2 separate regions of the Homo sapiens genome follow, and region 1 is linked to region 2. Evidence: promoter capture Hi-C in human tissues and cell types (Jung and others, 2019). All regions are on one chromosome and are shown on one strand. Each heading gives the region's core, a stretch centred on a gene start or on the middle of the fragment in contact. The rest is flanking DNA. Distances are from core to core; before and after follow the strand shown.

What was found. Contacts are between HindIII fragments. The study calls those that stand out against the background at their distance.
Region 1: a fragment that was not itself captured here is called in contact with the fragment with the promoter of TERF2IP in region 2 in 1 of the 25 tissues and cell types used here (dorsolateral prefrontal cortex).

The regions. Positions count from the first base shown.
Region 1 is chr16:74,657,806-74,664,895 of GRCh38, forward strand. RFWD3 (ring finger and WD repeat domain 3) reads right to left here. Exons shown (of 13, transcript NM_018124.4): 2 at 3,127-3,646. The coding sequence starts at 3,644. Among named protein-coding and RNA genes, the nearest start is that of RFWD3, 5.5 kb to the right of the region's middle. The HindIII fragment of the contact is 6,343 bases long and covers 440-6,782 here.
Region 2 is chr16:75,646,404-75,652,972 of GRCh38, forward strand. TERF2IP (TERF2 interacting protein) reads left to right here and starts at 1,370. Exons shown (of 3, transcript NM_018975.4): 1 at 1,370-2,149. The coding sequence starts at 1,480. KARS1 (lysyl-tRNA synthetase 1) reads right to left here and starts at 1,262. Exons shown (of 14, transcript NM_005548.3): 1 at 1,175-1,262. The coding sequence starts at 1,236. RefSeq lists enhancers at 1,115-1,294, 1,334-2,291, 2,225-2,494, 2,292-3,247, 3,826-3,905 and a silencer at 1,795-1,914. The HindIII fragment of the contact is 7,104 bases long and covers 1-4,403 here.

The DNA of each region.
Region 1 (7,090 bases), core at 2,361-4,860, 990 kb before region 2:
TACCAACTCCATTTCTTGAGATTCTAAGTGAACAGCAGCTATAGCTACCATGAGACTAAACACATAAGAAAAGCATTTCATAAGAAGATTTAATCAAATACATACTAGAGTTAGGGTGTTGACACGTATATCAATAGAATTCTACATAGAACCCAGTAAAAAAGTGATAGACGATTAAAAAAAATCACTCTTTAATATTGCTTTTATGTAGCAAAGAATTTCCAAAGTCAGGCAAGAACACAGGAAAGGGGAACTGTGAAAACCAACAGGAAGCAGTGCTAGGGTTTCTCTTTGGGAGCACAGATTTAGAACCCAAGAAATTCTCCTCCTTCCCTGCACTTACCAACTTTGAATTTTGCTCCTTCCCTACTCTCTGTAGTCCTAGACTCCGTATGCTCCAGGAAAACAATATTGTGATCTGTGTTATTCACCAATATATCTAGGGCAAAGTTTAGTCTCTCACACAGAGGAGTGTTATCAATATTTGATGAATGAGTGATGACCCCCACTGCCAGAATGAAACCGCCCCAAACAAATCAGAAAGGAGTTTGTGACCTCAGCTAAGCCTGTTGGGAAGAATAAGCTCACTACTTAGCTTTCCATAGCTTTGGCTTCTTGGCTGACTGTGAGTCAAAAGCTGTTCACCTTGGCCCAGGCTTTCAACACCTGGCCCAGGGACAGTCTGTCAGATGAGTAAATGTCAAACACCACACTGAGAAATTCATCTCAAGAAATTCAGAAGTTATAAGCGATTAGTCCTGGGAAAGGTCATACTTCAGGGAAAAAAGTTTTAATCACATTTACCTGGCTCCAGAACTGATGTAATTTCCACTGAACTGCACACTTCCTGACCGTTTAGGTTATTCCCTTTGTGGAGACAGATTATGGCTGCCAAATAGCTTGACTGACATCTTTCAACATTTAAATTCTGTATAACTCATTCCCTGAGCAGATTCTATAATTTTTTTTTTTTTTTTTTGAGACAGAGAGTCACTCTTGTCACCCAGGCTGGATTACAGTGACAAGATCTTGGCTCACTGCAAGCTCCGCCTCCTAGGTTCAAGGAATTCTCATGCCTTAACCTCCCAAGTAGCTGGGACCACAGGTGTGTGCCACCACGCCCGGCTAATTTTTTGTATTTTTAGTAGAGATGGGGTTTCACCATGTTGGCCTCGAACTCCTGGCCTAAAGGGATCCGCCTGCCTTGGCCGCTCAAAGTTCTGAGATTACAGGCGTGAGCCACTATGCCCAGCCACATCAAGCAATTTTCTCACTAGAGTTTGGCTTCTGTTTGGCTCTCTAGTGGTTCTGTTTTTCTTTGTAAGTTGGCATCTGGTTTATAAGTGTCACCCTTAAGTTGGTTAATACAAGTCACTGTGCTTGACCAAGAGGAATCCACTCTGCGTCCCCCAACAAGAATGAGTGCATGGATAAGCAAGACTGAGGACTTGCAAGAGGCCTCCTGACAGTCAGCCAGCTCCTGGAAACACCACTCACAACTCTCAACCATGGAAAGTTAGCCCATTTACTTTGGGAGGGTCCCCAAATTACACCATAAGGTGCCTTCACCTATAACACAAATGTATGAAATCTTACCCTGCCTTTATAACGTGAGTAATGACATCTTAAAACAACAGACTATAGCCAAGCCTGCTGGTGCACGCCTGCAATCCCAGCTACTTAGGAGGCTGAGGCACAAGAATCGCTTGAACCCGGGAGCCAGAGGTCCTGGTGAGCTGATACTGCGCCACTGCACTCCAGCCTGAGTGACAGAGCAAGACTCTTGTCTTAAAAACAAAAAAAAAACCCAGAGTAATATGCATTTGCAACTCTTGTCAACACAGAACTAGGCATCTGTCATCCTTGATGGGCACTACAGACACTGGAGCCACAGTCATGGCAAGCCCCAACATTAAAATCAGCAGGATCCATGAAAAAGAATGCTGAATCCAGATACAGAAGGCACAATTCCAATTCCAGCCTTATCACAACCAAATCACAAATTATCCCATCAGCTTCCTCATTTGTAAAACATGGGTAATAGATGACCTAGCTACCACTTTTTAGTATCATCTCAATATTTTCACAGTGTTAGAAAACATCGGCATGGTTGCGTATGCCTGTAGTCCCAGTTAATCATCAAGAGGCTGAGGTAGGAAGATCGCCTAAGCCTGGGGAGGTCGAGGCTGCAGTGAGCTGTGATTGCACCACTGCACTCCAGCCTGGGGAGCACAGTGAGACCCTGTCTCAAAAATAACAATAATAAAAACAAGAAGAAAGAGAAAACAAAGGGATTTCGTCGAAGCTTCCTCCATCTGCCTATGTAGAAAACAGGGCAGATCCAGGCTCCAATATCAGTGCTAACTCCTCTATTCTATAGTTATGAGACCCTGAACAAAGCCCTCTCTGAGCGGAGATCGCACCACTGCGCTCCAGCCTGGGCGACAGAGTGAGACTCCATCTCAAAACAAAACAAAACCAAAAACAGACAGGTTTAATTAGTTAGGTGTGGTGGCACGCGCCTGTAATGCCAGGTACTGGGGAAGCTGAGGCAGGAGAATCGCTTGAATCTGGGAGATGGAGGTTGCAGTGAGCAAAGATTGTGCCACGGGAATCCAGCCTGGACGACAGAGTGAGACGCTGTCTCAAAAACAAAAACAAAAAACCAAAAAACGGACAGGGTATAGGCAATTGTTATTCTTCATAATAACCCTGTCAAGACTTGACAGCTAAGCCCTTCAAGAGGCAAGTTCAAACCAAGACTATGAAAGAAAATTAATTAATTGTGCCCCCAGGTGGAATGCCAGTGAATAATGAATTTGGGTGAGTAGAGACTTGCAAGTGAAGAAAGAATTTTTGGTGTACAAGACACAATCTGAACAACAGCCAATCTCTACAGAGATTGCCAACAAACTACCACCTAGTTTTCAAGGCACAACAGTTTAACTTATCCCTTCATTACTTTGTGAAGTAAGGCAAGCACTTTTATTTCCACCTATGAGGAACTGGGGGTCAGAAGTTACCTGACTTGCCAAAAGTCACACTGTCAGTCCTTGAATGGCAGAGCCTCAGTTTCATAATTTCTAGTACAGCAATGATCACAGACTTATCCATATATTTATTTACCTGGCACTGTCTGTCCTCTGAGACCCTCCGGCTCTTGCCCTCCGTGAAGCAGATACCCTCCTTCTTGTTCTCATTGGCCCTACACTGTGGTTTGAAGATGAAGGTCTCAGGAATTCCAGCATGCCATGAAGTCTCTGCAGTCCGCTGATGAAGTTGGTCATTGAATGCAACGAAGATGCTGGGATGGTGTGATTACCATCAGATCCCTGCCTATGTTGTTCTGAAGTTCTTGGATTGATGTTCTCCACAGTGTCTTCTCCCAAGACCTCCACTTCTGTCAGGTCAACAGACAGTTGCGGAGCAGGCTGGAGCAGGGGTGGTGTCGCTTGGCTGCTGATCACCTCAGCAGGAGCTGGCTGGAGGATGGATGGTACCCCCTGGCTGCTGACCACATCAGCAGGAACAGGCTGGAGGAGGGCTGGTCCCCCTTGGCTGCTGGCCATGCCAGCAGGAGCTGGCTGTTGTTCGGCATGATTTAACTGCACCTGAACATCATATTCCATTGCTTCATGAGCCATCACTAGAGAAACAGTATTTGTAAAAAGTATTAATAAAATAGATAAAACATGCTATGTAGGTGACAGAATCATATTTAATCTTTCTGATTTTATGTTTAATATCATTCTTAGCAAGACTGAGAAGCTTCAAGAGAAGATTTTAACTACTTAAGTCAGAAGTGTTTGGTAATGGACTTTCCTCTCTATAACAAGCATTTATAACCAGTTTTCCGGTTTGCCCTTAGAAAACATGAAGTCCTGTGATCATAGTAGTATCTTCCAAAATAGAAAGATCTATAAACCAAGGAGATTAAACTACTGGGTCTAAAAGTAATCTCTCAGACACTTTGCAGTTCTCTCAAGCTGAATATGGACATTCACCAAAATCAAATGCATATAATGCAGTATCTAATTTTAGCAGGCAATATTAATCTTTCACAGCATCAACAGTTACAAGGGATAAATAGAGAAAGGACATTTTTTACACTTGCAAAATTAACTGTTACTAACTCAAAATGGAAACTTACCTAATGTTTCCAAAAAGGCTGAGCAAACTTTATCCTATCCCTTTCATTATTTTTGTTTTCCATCTCTAATTCCATCATGTTAGCGTATTCAACAAATATTTATTAAGCACCTATGTTCTTTTCATGTTTCCTATCTTTAATTCCATTGTATCAGTTTGAAAACTACCACCTAGTTTTTAAACTAAAAAAAAAAATTTTTTTTTGTTATATAGATGAAGGCTTCCTATGTTGCCCAAACTGGTCTTGAATGCCTGGCCTTACCTCCTCATGCATCAGGACAACAGGACTGAGCCACTGTGCCTCCCTACCACCTAGTTTTTAAAGTACATCAGTATAACTTATCCCCTTAATTACTTTGTGAAGTAAGGCACGTGCTTTTATTTTCATCTGACTTATGAGGAAATGGGGGTTCAACTAATAGTTATTAAGCACCTGTTATGCAGACAAGACACCCTAGAGGCAAAAACAGATAAGACCCCATGTATCAGAGTTTAGATTCTAGCAAGTAAGATGTCAATAAACAAATACATGAAAAAAATTATAGATTATGATGTTTGGGGTTGAGGAGACAAAGAGGACCAACTAAGACACAATTGTGAGGGAAGTACTCTTTTAAAGAGTGAAAATTGGGCTGAGGCATGAAGGATTAAAAGCAGCTGGCTATGCAAAGAGCCAAGAAGAGTCTCAGAAGGAAATCAGTGCATAGGTCCCTGATGAGCATGGGTTTCACTGATGAACAGGACACCATTATTAAAGGGCCTATGGGCCTTGGTAAGGAGTTTCTTCTATGTTAGGAATGCACTGTAGGGGTGCAAGAGCATAAGCTAGGTGACCAGTGTAGAGGCTATTGTGGGAGTCCAGACCAGAGGTCAGAGAGACCTAGGCAAGAGTGGTAGCAGTGGAGATGAAAACAAACAGACAGCTTTAAGAATCTTCAGAATGGTCATGCTTCTTTTTTTTTTTTTTTGAGATGGAGTCTCGCTCTGTTGCCCAGGCTGGAGTGCAGTGGCGCGATCTCGGCTCACTGCAAGCTCCGCCTCCCGGGTTCACGCCATTCTCCTGCCTCAGCCTCCCGAGTAGCTGGGATTACAGGTGCCTGCCACCACGCCTGGCTAATTTTTTGTATTTTTAGTACAGCCGGGGTTTCACTGTGTTAGCCAGGATGGTCTCGATCCCCTGACCTGGTGATCTGCCAGCCTCAGCCTCCCAAAGTGCTCGGATTATAGGCATGAGCCACCGCGCCCGGCCAATACTCATGTTTCTTAAAATCATCAAAGCAGATTAAACCACCTGAGGAACAGAATGACAGAAGAGGGCTGAAGACTAAAGTCAGAGACACTACTGTTAAAAGTACAACAGAGTAAAAGAAGCCAGTTAAGGAAGATTATAAAGTAGGAGGAAACATGGGAATGTGGTGTCTTGGAAAAACAATGTTTCAAGGAAGGAACAATTGAGTGTCAAGTGCTACTGGGGGGAAGAACGGCCGCTAGATTTGGCAACATGAGGATGACAGGTGACCTAAAAAAGCAGTTTCCCTGAAGTGGTGGGGTCAGAGGCCAGACTGGTGCAGGCTGAATAAATGGAAGGAATTCTAATAAACATAGTGGACGAAGTACATATATGTATCTTTCTCTCTCCACTCCAGTCATTCCTAAAACCCACGAACATGACCCCCACAACCTGAGACATTTTTTTAAGAAAGGATAAATTAACCAGGACGACACAAATGCAAACAGGGTATGATATGCAAACCAGTTTTTTAAGGCCATAAAGGAGAAACTGATGATTGATGACTGCTTAGCAGAGCCAAAAGATAAAACTCAAAGCCTGCAAAGGGCACAGTGGTTGGGGTGAGGTGTGTTATTGAGAAGCAAGCTGATTCCCACTAAAGGGACTGTAAAAACCAGGTACCACAAAAGGCAATATTGAAAGATGGCGCTAAAAGAGAAGGGCTGGTTAAAAGCCAGTAAAGCAGTTAGCTTGACTCCTACTCAAACACCAGCCAGCTAAAACAAAACACAGAACAAAGCCCTTCTCCCCCTATGCACGAGAAAACTGGAGGTTTGAACCACACAGGCTTACACTCAGGATGGAGAGTGGCACAGTACTGAAAATAAGTGGGAAAGAAAGTCTGCAAACTGAACAATGTGAGATACTTCAAGTTTTAAACATTTTTTGTATAGATGGGGTTTCCCACGTTGCCTAGGCTGGTCTTCAACTCCTCGGCTCAAGCAACCCTTCTGCCTCAGCCTCCCAAAGTGCTGGGATTACAGGAGTGAGCTACTGCAGCTGCCTAACTAAAAGCTTTTAATGTTTCTAGGGTACAACGACAGTCTCCCAAGAATTGTGTGTCAGAACATAAGGCCCAAGCTACTTCTAGATGTACTCAAGAGACATTAAGCAACTCAGCCTTCAGGAAGACAAAGGGGAGAAATGGACTAAAAAGAGCAGAATCTAGGGGGCCGCACTGTCTACTCCCATATGGTTATTTAAATTAAATAAAAATCAAATTCGGCCAGGAGCTGTGGCCCACGCCTATAATCCCAGCACTTTGGGAGACTGAGGCAGGTAGCTGGAGACCAGGAGTTGGAGACCAGCCTGGGCAACACGGCAAAACCCCGTCTCTACAAAAAATACAAAAAAATTAGCCAGCCGTGATGGTGTGCACCTGTGGTCCTAGCTACTTGGGAGGCTGAGGCAGGAGAACCCCTTGAACCCGGAGAGTGGAGGTTACATTGAGCCGAGATCACGCCACTGCACTCCAGACCGGGAGAGAGAGTAAGACTCCGTCTAAAAAAAGAAAAAAGAAAGAAATAAAATAAGTTCCTTTGTCGTGCAGGTCACATTTCAACTGCTAGAAACACACATAGGGCGGGTGACTCCCATACTGGACAGCAGAAATACAGAACACTTTTCTCGTCGCACAAAGTTCTATGGAAC
Region 2 (6,569 bases), core at 120-2,619:
GGTGGCACACGCCTGTAATCCCAGCTACTCGGGAGGCTGAGGCAGGAGAATCGCTTGAACCCTGGCAGCGAAGGTTGCAGTGAGCTGAGATCGCGCCACTGCACTCCAGCCTGGCGACAGAGCGAGACTCCATCTTAAAAAAAAAAAAAAAGAAACATCATTTCTCTTTTCTTTTTCATTCAGGGTCTGGCTCCGTCTCAGTAACTCCTTGGGGAAAGCGATGGAGAAGGGCTCGCTCACGCAGCACTTCTGGCAGTCCCTGAAGGACCACTACCTCAAGTCTCCCAGGCTGGAGTGCAGTGGCACGACTTCAGCACACTGCAACCTCCGCCTCCTGGGTTAAAGCGATTCTCCTGCCTCAGTCTCCCGAGTAGCTGGGATAACAAGTGCGCGCCACGGGGATTAAGCCCTCTCGTATGCCTCTGGAATGGTACTATGTACCATCTTCCTAGCAATGATAAAACACTCAATTACCTGTGTTCTGTGGTTCAAATGGGGAACGCTAATGAGAATATAAGACAGCCAGTTAAAGGGTGGCTAATCCTGACTTATCTATGTTAACCTACATACTCCAGGGATTTGGGAGTGGTTAACAAAGATATCAGGCTGAATTAAGATGGTCTCTACTGTTAGACGTTGATCACTTAATACTCACAGGTATCTACTGAATAACCCATACGGGTAGATGCATGACAGTTTTAGAACTGATCCCTTTTAATACATAACGTTCAGAATGACCTTAGTGAGGCCCAGAAAATTTTGAAGGTCTTTCTGAAAAGCTAGGGTATTTAACATTTCTCCAACTTCCACGTTTACTGAGTGGCTCAACAAAAGAATGCATTTCTCAGAAAGGAGGATGAAGCTAAGCAGGAAGTTTCGCTTTTCTTTTCTGATAACTCTTAGTTCTCGTCCTAGTTCCTCCTCCACAGTCTCTTAACTCTAGGAGTATGATAGGGAGCATCCCGCCGGTGCCAGCTGGGAACGGGGAGCCGGCGTGCCCGGGGTATCCCGGGGTACGTGGTCTGCAGGGCGCAGCCACCACGTCTCAGCATGTGCGTACCCACGAGAGCCGGCAAGAAGGCCCCGGCACAGCAGCCTTGGTGGGAACCTCGCGGCGCTTCCCAGCCCAGACTCTCCTACCGCAAAGGCTTTAAAGACTCGCAGCGACACTCACTTCTTGCTCAGTTTCGGCTCGCTGCCATCCACTTTCACCTCGGCCGCCTGCACGGCCGCCATCTTCCCGGAGGGCCCGACCCAAAAGTAAGGAGGATAGTACGTTAATTTCCAGGTCAAGGTGCGAAGCCCCACCTCTTCCGGGGGAGAGGGGGCGGGCACTCTCGATGCGCCGCGGCTGCTGCTGCGCAGGCCCAGTGCTGCGCTTCGCGGCAGAGGCGTCTGCGGTGACAGCTCAGTCAGTTGAGCTCTGTGTGCCAGGCGCTCGCGAGGGGGTAGCTCTTCTAGTAGTGCTCGGCGTCAGACATGGCGGAGGCGATGGATTTGGGCAAAGACCCCAACGGGCCCACCCATTCCTCGACTCTGTTCGTGAGGGACGACGGCAGCTCCATGTCCTTCTACGTGCGGCCCAGCCCGGCCAAGCGTCGGCTGTCGACGCTCATCCTGCACGGCGGCGGCACCGTGTGCCGAGTGCAGGAGCCCGGGGCCGTGCTGCTGGCCCAGCCCGGGGAGGCGCTGGCCGAGGCCTCGGGTGATTTCATCTCCACGCAGTACATCCTGGACTGCGTGGAGCGCAACGAGAGGCTGGAGCTGGAGGCCTATCGGCTGGGCCCCGCCTCGGCGGCGGACACCGGCTCGGAAGCAAAGCCCGGGGCCCTGGCCGAGGGCGCCGCGGAGCCGGAGCCGCAGCGGCACGCCGGGCGGATCGCCTTCACGGATGCGGACGACGTAGCCATCCTTACCTACGTGAAGGAAAATGCCCGCTCGCCCAGCTCCGTCACCGGTAACGCCTTGTGGAAAGCGATGGAGAAGAGCTCGCTCACGCAGCACTCGTGGCAGTCCCTGAAGGACCGCTACCTCAAGCACCTGCGGGGCCAGGAGCATAAGTACCTGCTGGGGGACGCGCCGGTGAGCCCCTCCTCCCAGAAGCTCAAGCGGAAGGCGGAGGAGGACCCGGAGGCCGCGGATAGCGGGGGTGAGGAGGCTGAGCGCGGGGCCTCGCGGATATCTGCGCGGGTGGGGTTGGGATCTTTCTCCTGGCTGCCTGGCGTCCATCTTGGCATCTTCGGTAGCAGCGCTTGGCCCCGCCCCCTGTTGACATCCGGGTAAATTTGCACCATTTTCTTGCCTTCTCGCTCCCTTGTTGTTTATTATTGTTCTTTTTTTGCGATGGGTCTCTGTTACCTAAGCTGGTCTGAACTCCTGAGCTCAAGCGATCCTCCTGCCTCGGCCACCCAAAGTGTTGGGATTACAGGAGTGAGCCACCACGTCTGGCCTCTCGTCGTTTTTATTTTTTAATTTTTGAGTGGGGGCTCGCTCCGTCGCCCAGGCTGTGATGCAGCCGCGCGATCACGACCTACTGCATCCTGGACCTCCTGGGCTCAAGCGAATCTCCGGCTTCAGCCTCCCAAGTAGCTGGAACTACACTCCCGCGCCACCACGTCCCGCTAAATTAAAAAAAAAATTGTTGTAGAGATGGGGGTCTCGTTGTGTTGCCCTGACAGGTCTCGAACTCTTGGGCTCAAGCGATCCTCCCGTCTCGGTGTCCCAAAGTGTTGGGATTACAGGCGTGAGCCATCACACCCAGCTTCTTGGTCTAGTTTTAATTTACTTTACCATTGACTAGAATATTGACATGGTTCTATATTCAAAAGTTACAAAAAGTATATAGAAAATTCTCTCTTGGCCGGGCGCGGCGGCTCAAGCTTGTAATCCCAGCACTTTGGGAGGCCGAGGCGGGCGGATCACCTGAGGTAAGGAGATCGAGACGAGCCTGACCAACATGGCGAAATGCCGCCCCTACTAAAAATACAAAAATTAGCCGGCCGTGGCGGAGAGTTCCTGTAGTCCCAGCTACTCAGGAGGCTGAGGCAGGAGAATTGCTTGAACCCGGGGGGCGGAGGTTGCAGTGAGCCGAGACTGCGCCACTGCTCTCCAGCGTGGGTGACAGAGCAAGACTCCATCTCAAAAAAAAAAAAAAATTATCTCGTCCTTCCTGTCCACCAGCTACCCACGGGCTAACTGGCTTCTTGTGTTTCTTTTAAGAGATATTCCACAGACTCCTTTTTAAAAAAGATTGCTGTTATGTTCAGGTAGATTCAGTATAAAGGCGTACCAGACTTACTTTAATGCTCTGGCGTAACTGAATGCCTATGGACTTAAGAAGGTTCTCGGCAGTTGGAAGGTCTCTTCCTGGTCTTGCTTAGGTGAAGTGAGTTTTTAATGCAGTTGAATTGAAAATTGGGGTTCAGTATGTCTAGGATACAGAACGAGTCTGTTAAGATGTACTTGGTGACGTACCTGGCATTGATAACTTAAACCGATAGACCCTTTTGTTTAAAGAGGCATGCTGCTTCTCCTCCCCCTCCGTAATCCTCCCACCTTTTCTTTGCCTGTATGACTACTCCATTTAACACTTGAAGTCTGGGGAGTAAAATCTTTTTCTCCTGTTCAGTATGCTTAGTAGGAATTTTGTTTTGGTAAAAGTGACATTTCAGCTTCATTCATTCAGCAGAAATTTGAGTGCCAGACATTGTGGTCCTGCTGGAATATAACAATAAATAAAAGTCCCTGTGGTCCTGGAGCTTATAACATGCTAGCTGGGGAGTGGTAAGGGCTATAGAGAAAAATAATTCAGAGTGTAAGGGTTGGGGAGGAGGTTTTTCCTATAGGATGATAAGAGAAGGTCATTCTCATAAGCTGATGTTTAAGCAGAGACCGAAGGAAGTGAAAGAGCAACCCAGGTGGATATCTGGGGAAGAGTGTTCAGGCAGAGGAAGAAGCCAGGGCAATCGCCCTTAGGTGGGAGTATGGCTGGTGTGTTTGGAGCCACAAAGAGAACAGAGTGGCTGTTAATGGAGTAGGAGGGAGAATTAATTATAGCAGATGAGGTTAGGGCTATGTGTATGGGTGAAGTATGTCATCATGTATGGCCTTGCTTTTATTTTTATTTTATTTTAATTTTATTATATATCTTGAGATGGGGTCTTGCTCTGTCACACAGGCTGGAGTGCGGTAGTGCGATCACGGCTCACTGCAGCCTTGACTTCCCAGGCTCAGTGGATCCTCCCACCTCAGCTTTCCAAGTAGCTGGGACTACAGGCACTCGTCACCATACCTAGCTAATTTTTGTATTTTTTTGTAGAGACAGGATTTGGCCGTGTTGCCCAGGCTGGTCTCGAACTCCTGGGCTCAAGGGATCTGCCCGACTTGGCCTCCCAAAAGTGCTAGGATTCCAGGTGTGAGCCACCATGCTGTGTCTGGGACTTGCTTTTAAATCCGTGATGTTGGGGCTATTGGCAAGCCATTTGGAACTTGGGACAAAATTAAGCTGTATTCATCCTACCCATCTAAGTAATCTTTTGATAATCAGATATTTAAATGTAAAAATTAAAAAATTCTAAAATGAGTAAGAGAAGATATGAATGAATATATCAGTATGGTGGGAGTTGCTCTGAACCATTTGTGGTTCAGGATGCTGCCTGATTTGCCAGAAGAAAAAAAGTAAAAATATTAGCATGGTGATAAGTTATGAAGCCAAAAAGACAAAGAAAAAGTTTTATATATTTGATTACCTGAAAATTAAGAACTTCTCATGATAAATAAAGTCAGAGGGCATGCTGGAAAAACATTCCCAATACACTGCAATAGACTTAGTTTCTTTAATGTCTAAAGAGCTCTTTGTCATTAAGTAAGAAGTCATTAAGTAAAAAGAAAACTAATAGAAAAATGAGAAAAGGAAATGGAACAGGAAGTTCCCAGAAAAGGAAATAAATAAGCGGCCGATAAACAAATGAAGAAATAGTCTGTTATTAAATGAAAGTAAATCAGACCGAGTGCGGTGGCTCATGCCTGTAATCCTAGCACTTTGGGAGGCCAAGGTGGCAGACCACTTGAGGTCAGGAGTTCGAGACCAGCCTGGCCAACATGATGAAACTCCGTCTCTACTAAAAACTACAAAAACTATCCAGGCATGGTGGCATGCGCCTGTAATCGCAGCTACTCAGGCAGCTGAGGCATGAAAATTGCTTGAACCAGGGAGGTGTAGGTTGCAATGAGCTGAGATCAAGCCCCTGCACTCCAGCCTGGGTGACAGAACCAGACTCCATCTCGGAAAGAAAAAAAGAAGAAGAAAGAAAGTAAATCAGACCCTGAGCCTAGGGTCAGTATAAGCTATACTTTGACCCATGAGACCTGTGAGATAATAAATATGTGTGTTGGAATTGTTTTGTATTTATTTGATGAATTGAGATAGCTTCCATTATACAAAATAGAACAAAAGCTCCCCAAGTTATTTATTTTTTTTAACTAAATCAGAGCAAGGAGATGTTATACTTTATCTATAAGATTGGCAAAAGTCAATACAATGGGTAATATCCAAAGTTAGTGTATGGGAAAACAAGTATACTCCTACGTTGTTAATAGAAATTGATACAATTTCTTTGGGGGGCATTTTGACAATATCTGATGACATTTATAACGTATATTCCCTTAAACATGGCAGTTTTGTTCTAGGAATTTATCCCGTAGATATACTCAGAGTACAAATGGGTACATACTGAAAAGGCAGTCTCCCTATTTACATACCCTTTTCCCTGGGTCCTTTCCTAGGGGCAGCCTCTATTACCGTCTCTTGTCTGTTGCATGTCCCCTTTGCTCATAGTAATACTAGCACACTAGACATCAACTTAATCTGTGGTTTACTTTTTTTAAACTTAATTATTTATCTTGAAGTGTTTGTGTGTCTGCACAAAGCTTTTCCTCATTCTTTTCTAATTGATTGCACTGTATTTCATTATGTGAATGAACAGTAATTTACTTTTTATTATGGAGAATTCCAAGCATTTACAAATACAGAATAGTATAATGAACTATACTGCATATACCCATCACCCACCTTCACCTGATTTTAGTTCATGGCATTTTTTAAATCTATACTTTTCATCCCAACTTCCTGGACTGTTTTGAAGCAAATGCCAGACATCATATCATTTTATCTATTTTAGCATGTATCTCTCAAAGATAAGCCTCTTTTAGTTACTATTTAAGAATTTTATTAAATACATACAGTAAAATTAACTTTTTATGGTGTAAAATTATATGCATTTTAAAAACTTTATTTTTTATTGTGGTAAAATGTATATACCGTAAAATTTACAGTTCAGATAGTTTTTTAAGTGTTCTGTTCAGTGGCATTATTAAGTGCATTCACATTGTTGGGCAACTGTCACCACCATCTGTATCTAGAACTTACTCATTTTCTAAAACTGAAACTCCATGCCTTTTATTATTTTCTGCTTCTAGGGGTCAGAAACATGCCTATTAAACACTAATTCCCCATTTCTCCCTCCTCTTAGCCCCTGGAAACAACCATTCCGCCTTCTGTTTCTATGAAT